2 separate regions of the Homo sapiens genome follow, and region 1 is linked to region 2. The links are contacts of gene promoters, found by promoter capture Hi-C in blood cells and fetal thymus (Javierre and others, 2016). All regions are on one chromosome and are shown on one strand. Each heading gives the region's core, a stretch centred on a gene start or on the middle of the fragment in contact. The rest is flanking DNA. Distances are from core to core; before and after follow the strand shown.

What was found. Contacts are between HindIII fragments. The CHiCAGO score rates a contact against its expected background, and 5 or more counts as called.
Region 1: a contact is called between a fragment that was not itself captured here and the fragment with the promoter of DNPH1 in region 2, in 2 of 17 cell types (total B cells and endothelial precursors). The highest score is 5.0, in total B cells.

The regions. Positions count from the first base shown.
Region 1 is chr6:43,447,156-43,450,673 of GRCh38, forward strand. ABCC10 (ATP binding cassette subfamily C member 10) reads left to right here. Exons shown (of 22, transcript NM_001198934.2): 17 at 93-253; 18 at 529-782; 19 at 1,726-1,871; 20 at 1,952-2,049; 21 at 2,267-2,379; 22 at 2,774-3,272. The coding sequence ends at 2,936. It overlaps DLK2 (delta like non-canonical Notch ligand 2), which reads right to left. Exons shown (of 6, transcript NM_023932.4): 6 at 3,197-3,518. The coding sequence ends at 3,384. Among named protein-coding and RNA genes, the nearest start is that of DLK2, 6.6 kb to the right of the region's middle. The HindIII fragment of the contact is 9,873 bases long and covers 1-3,518 here.
Region 2 is chr6:43,227,848-43,231,016 of GRCh38, forward strand. It overlaps DNPH1 (2'-deoxynucleoside 5'-phosphate N-hydrolase 1), which reads right to left and starts at 1,634. Exons shown (of 4, transcript NM_006443.3): 1 at 1,414-1,634. The coding sequence starts at 1,609. RefSeq lists silencers at 1,243-1,432, 1,493-1,932 and an enhancer at 1,416-1,915. The HindIII fragment of the contact is 28,530 bases long and covers 1-3,169 here.

The sequences.
Region 1 (3,518 bases), core at 817-3,316, 220 kb after region 2:
CCTTTAAATGCCAGCAGTCCACAGCCTGGGGAGTCTCCCACAAACGTCCCGGTGTCCAAGCTCTCCCAGCAGCTGGTACTTCTCTCCCCCAGGGCTGGTGGGCTTGTCGCTGTCTTATGCCCTGTCCCTGACGGGCCTGCTCTCGGGCCTGGTGAGCAGCTTCACACAGACAGAGGCCATGCTGGTGAGCGTCGAGCGGCTGGAAGAGTACACCTGTGACCTGCCCCAGGAACCCCAGGGCCAGCCACTGCAGGTGGGCCTGTACCCCCACCCCAGGCCAAAGCTCTGGAACCCTGAAGGCCCCAGTCTCCCTCACAATTCCTTTCTTTTTGCCCACCCATCTTTCTCAGCTCCCATAACCTCTCTTCATGATGACCACAATTCTTCACCATGTCCCTTCTTCCCCATCTCTCATTCTCTCATTCCTCTCACACTGTCCATTTCTCATTATTCTCCCCTCCTCACCATCGCTCCTCATCTCCCCTATCTCCCTTTCCCCGTCTGTCTCCCACCCATGGACCCCACCAGCTGGGCACCGGCTGGCTGACCCAGGGGGGCGTGGAGTTCCAGGACGTGGTGTTGGCGTACCGGCCAGGGCTGCCGAATGCCCTGGATGGAGTGACCTTCTGCGTGCAGCCTGGAGAGAAGTTGGGCATCGTGGGCCGCACAGGCTCCGGCAAGTCTTCCCTGTTGTTGGTGCTCTTCCGGCTGCTAGAGCCCAGTTCAGGGCGAGTGCTGCTGGACGGCGTGGACACCAGCCAGCTGGAGCTGGCCCAGCTCAGGTCTGGGGGAGATGGACTTGGGAGGGGAAGGGGGAACCAGAACTACTGGCACTTAGAGGAGGGCATAGCCAGGAAGGCTTTATATAAACTCACAGCAGCCAGGGCTGATCAGGGGGCTGAAATGGAGGACAGGATGAGCAGGCAAGGACAGCGAACTCCTAGTGCCCAGGTCCAGATTCATGGCTGGTGATCTCAAGGTCTTCCTCGCCCTGACCCAGGCCACCTTTCCAGCTTCATCTTTCTTGTACTTCCTACCATACACCCTCCACTCTTGTGCCCCAAGATACTGATCCCCTGAGTCCTAGGCTCAGCAGGCAGTGCTTCAGACAGCTTGAGACCTGAACCGGTTGCCCTTGGCTTCAGGTGGCCTCACTGGAGGGTATACAACCCTTCCTTACCTCCAGGTCAACCTAGTATCATTTTCTCTGAGTACGGTGACATGGAAAAGGTAGGGAAGCTGTATCCTAAAGCCCTAGGCCTGCCTCTTCTGCCTTCTCTTCTAAGCTGTGGTGGCCCTACCTTATAGCTCCATCATGTCTTCAGGACCCAATTCTAGGCCCACTCCAACCTTGAAGTGTCACCTGCCCTTTCAGTCGCTCTGGTCATTCCCTGCGTAGCCACTGCCACCCCTGGAGTCAGTGCCACACAGTTTAGCCCATTTGTTTTGTCTGGTTTGTGTGTGTGCACCTCCGTGAAATGTAGGCACCTTGAGGACAGAGTCCAGCCTTTGGTTTCTTTGGTATTGCTCATAGCACTGGCACAGTTCTAGGTACCCAGCTACTAACAGATCATTTGGTGGGGATGGGGTGGGGAGCAGAGTGGGGTTATGTTCAGGTCTCATACCCAGGCTTTCATGGAGGTGCTAGCCCTGTAGTCAGAAACTGAGCTGGGAGCAGAAGTGGCTACATCTCCAACCACTAGACTCCATGTCATTGTCCCCCAGATCCCAGTTGGCTATCATCCCCCAGGAGCCCTTTTTGTTCAGTGGGACTGTTCGGGAAAACCTGGACCCCCAGGGCCTACATAAGGACAGGGCCTTGTGGCAGGCCCTGAAGCAGTGCCACCTGAGTGAGGTGATTACATCCATGGGTGAGTGCTGGACCCTGACCTTAGAGCAAGAAGGGAGCAGGGATGGCCTGGGCCCTGCAACGAAGATGCTTTCCTTGCAGGTGGTCTGGATGGTGAGCTGGGTGAGGGGGGCCGGAGCTTATCTCTTGGGCAGAGGCAGCTGTTGTGTTTGGCCAGGGCTCTCCTCACAGATGCCAAGGTAAGGTGAGAGAAAGAGACATTAGAGAGGGCCAGGAAGAAGGCTGGGGGCCGGGAGGTGGGGAGGTAGAGTGGGGAGAGGTTTTAGGGGACCAAGTTCATTTTCCTTTTAGAGCTGGAAGTGGGGAGCTGTGGTAGGGGCTGTTGCTTGGGCCAGGCCCAACCCACCCTGCAGCCTCTCCTTCCTTCTTATCCCCTACCCCATTCCCATATTCCAGATCCTGTGTATCGATGAGGCCACAGCAAGTGTGGACCAGAAGACAGACCAGCTGCTCCAGCAGACCATCTGCAAACGCTTTGCCAACAAGACAGTGCTGACCATTGCCCATAGGTATGTAAACGCCTGGTAACAGCCTAATCAGGGACTGTGGTAGCATGCACCGAGAGCCTCCGTTGCTTTCAGGGACCCCAGTGGTCAGGGCCTTAGAGATCCTGCCCCCCCAGATCTCAGCTCCTCCTTCTCCAGGGACGAGAAGGGTCCTTTATAGCACTGCCTAGGGCCCTTTATAGCACATTATCTGAGGGCCCTTTATAGCACTGCCTAGGGCCCTTTATAGCACATTATCTGAGGGACTCTGCAGTCCCTTCCCCAGCACCAAGCCAGGGGCTAAAGCCTGTGGGGACAGACCTGTGGTGTCCCGAGGGGAGAGGAGGGAAAGCAGGTCAGTGTTCTTACTTAGGGCATTGTCCCTCATCCCCTACACTGACCATCTTCCCCCTCACAGGCTCAACACGATCCTGAACTCAGACCGGGTGCTGGTGCTACAAGCGGGGAGAGTGGTAGAGCTGGACTCCCCGGCCACCCTGCGCAACCAGCCCCACTCCCTGTTCCAGCAGCTGCTGCAGAGCAGCCAGCAGGGAGTCCCTGCCTCACTCGGAGGTCCCTGAGCCCAATCCCACACCCTGCAGAGTTCTCCCCTCTCTCTGATCCAGGCCGGGCCTATACAGAGGTGCTGGCTGCTTGTTTACATTCTCCTCTGGGGCTCTACCTCTCCACACTTCCCCAGAAGGGAAAAGGGCACCCTGGATTACTCTTTGGAAATCACTCCTTGGTGGGCAGCATCCTGAGGCTTCCCCAGAACCAGGCCTCTGCTCTGGCCCTCTTGCATCTGGAACGCCAGGTGGGTTTTTCTGGCATAGGAGCCCACTTGCATTTTCATAGTTTTATTTGATAAAATTCCATCTTACATTCTGTGTATTAAAAAAATAATATTTCTGGTGTGAGGCTGAGGTCTCCTCTGTGTGTGTACCCAAGCTGAAGGGTGGTGAGAACGGACCACTCCAGTCTGAGGGGTGGAAGAGGTGAGGAAGGGGGCCAGAAAGCCCCCACCTCCATCACAGTGCTGTGGTCTTTCCAGGCTCAGGGGGCAAGTCACGTGGCAGGGGGAGCCCTGCTGGCAGCATGCTAACCTGACACTCCTGGTCCTGGCACGCTGGAGCATAGTGTGGGGCAGGGTAGCAACAGGGTCC
Region 2 (3,169 bases), core at 384-2,883:
GGGAGGCTGAGGCAGGCAGATCACTTGGGCTCAGGAGTTCAAGACCAGCCTGGCCAACATGGCAAAATCCCGTCCCTATAAAAAATACAAAACTTAACCAGGTATGGCGGCACACACCTGTAGTCCCAGCTACTTGGGAGGCTGAGGTGGGAGGATTGCTCAAGCCCGGGAGGCAGAGGTTAGCAGTGAGCTGAGATTTTGCCACTGCACTCCAGCATGGGTAATAGAACAAGACTGTTTCCAAATAAATAACTAAATAAATAGAAAGAGAAAGAAAAACCCAGCAGCCAGGAGCAGAACACAATAATGGCCTGAAAGAGAATATGAGGCCAGCATGGGGGCTCACATCTATAGTCCCAGCACTTCGGGAGGCCTGAGGCGGGAGGATCACTTGAGGCTAGGAGGTCGGGACCAGACTGGGCAACATAGTGAGACTCCCAATCTCTACAGAAAAATTTTGAGCCAGGCATGGTGTCGTGCCCCTGCAGTCCTTGCTAATAGGAGGCTGAGGCTGGAGGATCATGAGTTTAGGAAGCCGAGGCTGCAGTGAGCTATGATCGCACCACTGCACTCCAGCCTGGGCGACAGAGAGGCCCTTGTATCAACAAAACAAAAATGTGAGAGAGGGTAATAGTGAGAACTGGGGTCAGCCAGGTCTAAAAGAGTGCTGATGTCTTCACAGAAAAAGGGGAGGCAGGCCCTGGGCGGTGGCTCCTGTCTGTAATCCCAGCACTTTGGGAGGCCGAGGCGGGCAGATCACCTGAGGTCAGGAGTTCGAAACCAGCCTGACCAATATGGTGAAACACCGTCTCTACTAAAAATACAAAAAGTAGCCGGGTGTGGTGACGCGTGCCTGTAGTCCCAGCTACTCGGGAGGCTGAGGCAAGAGAATCACTTGAACCCGGGAGGTCGAGGTTGCAGTGAGCCGAGATCACGCAACTGCACTCCAGCCTGGGCGACAGAGTGAGATTCCGTTTCAAAAACAAAACAAAACAAAACAAAAAAAGTTGGTGGGGAGGCAGGAGGATACCTTTCGTGTTGGGTGGTGGAAAAGATTCCAGCGGGTGAGGTGGGAACTGAGCCCAAGCAAAGCAGCCCAATCTACCTTCTTTCTGTTGCACCCTACAAACGCTCTGAAAGCAGCTGAAGACAGAGTTCTCCAAGAAGGAACCAAAGGTCAAGATAATGCTGAGTCTGCCTTACACCCGCAGGCTTGCTGGGACCCACGCAGCCCGAGCCCCGGCCCGTTTCCTTCTCGGGCTGGGGCGCTGGATGGAGCACCGGGGTAGGAGGGCGGGCTCCGGGCGCCGGGAGCGCAGCTGCCGGGGGTCGGGGGGGCGGACAGGCCGGGTCCCTGCCACCCCAGCCAGGTCCGCGCCCGCGTCCCCGCGTCCCGCGGCCCCAGGGCCTCACCGCGCGCGCCCAGCTCGGCGGCCGCCACGTGCTCGGTGAGCACTGTCCCGAATCGCCGCAGCCGAGACACGATCCGCTCGTACAGCGTCCTGTCCTCGCGTCCGCCGCGAATGCTCCCGCAGAAGTACAGGGCCGGGCGGCCAGGCTCCCCGCGCTCCCAGCTCTCGCTGCGCCCCGGCACCATGGCAGCAGCCATTCCCCAGCCGCCCGCGCTCTCCGGCGCCAGGGGGCGCCAGCCCGCGGCCACGTGACCCCGCCCGGCCCAGCGCAGAGCCCGGCTGCTGAGTCCACACCTGTGGAATGGGGACGACGAACTGGGAGGATCCAGCCGGGACCCTTTCGGGAACACACCCTTCCTGGACTTGACGTTCGGATGCCTAACACGCACCTTAACTTGACCTTGTCCAGGCAGAACTCGAGGGCTTCCCCACCTCACCCGCTTCTGCTCCCCTCCTCCCCGCCGTCTTCCCCAGCTGCATCCTCCCAGCTGCTCAGGCCCAAGACCCTCGGAGTCATCTGGATCGTTCCCTTTCTCTCAAACTCTGCGTCCCATCCATTGACAACTCGTGTGGATTCGTCCTTCCAAATCTGAAATCTCACGACCGCCTACAGGGCCACCACCCTGGTCTAAGCCTCCTCTGGGCTCTCCACAGCCTCCTAACAGGTGTCCACATGTCGTGAGCTGCTCAAGGTCAGACAGAACCAGGTCCACCCACCTTTGTGTCTGTCCACAAGATCAGGTTTTTACTGATGCTATTTCAATCACAAAAGCTAGGCGTCACACGGAGTTCCCAAGAAGTCAGTTCTCCTTAGGACCACCTGTTCACTCGGTAGTCAGAGCCGCGGGCATGCAAGCTGGAGCCACTCCACAAGTCAGACTGTATTGCAAACCATCCATAGTATTATATGTAAGGATATAAATGTTACAGGTTAAAATTTCACATCAAACACAAGAACATTTAACATCAAGAGAAAAGGGGTTAACGAACCAGTCCAAGGAGAGTGCTGTGGACAGAGTCCCGGCCTGATGGGGATAGTCATCAAGAGCTTGCAAGGAAGAGTCCTTGATTTGGGCAGAGCCTTCAGAGGCAGACACCAGGTGCTGGGCACGAGTGATAGCAAGACTCGGTCTGTTAAGGTGGCCGTGTCTAGCTGCTGAAGTCCTGATCATTTTATGGTCCTTGAGTCCTCTGATGAGGACTTATAGTAAAGGGTGATGCCCTTATCTGGTTGGGTGTTGTCTCCATTGGTTAGGCGAACATCTGGACCCTGTTGGCTTGATGCCTTTTGAAATGTAAGATGAAGTTTTTTAAAACTTTATTTATTTATTTATTTATTATTTTTGGTGACAAGGTCCCTGTCGCCCACACTGGAGTGCAGAGGCACGATCATTGCTCACTGCAGCCTCAAACTCGTGCCTCAAGTTTGAGGGTTCAAGGAATCCTCCCACCTCAGCTTCCTGAGTAGCTAGGACTACAGGCACGTGCCACCATGCTGAGCTAATAAAAAAAAAATTGGCTGGGCTCGGTGGCTCATGTCTGTAATCCCAGCACTTTGGGAGGCCGAGGTGGGCAGATCACGAGGTCAGGAGATCGAGACCATCCTGGCTAACGCGGTGAAACCCCGTCTCTACTAAAAATACAAAAAGTTAGCCAGGCGTGGTGGCACACTCCTGTAGTCCCAGCTACTCCAGAGGCTGAGGCTGGAGAATCGCTTGAACCCGGGAGGCAGAGGTTGCAGTGAGCCAAGATCACGC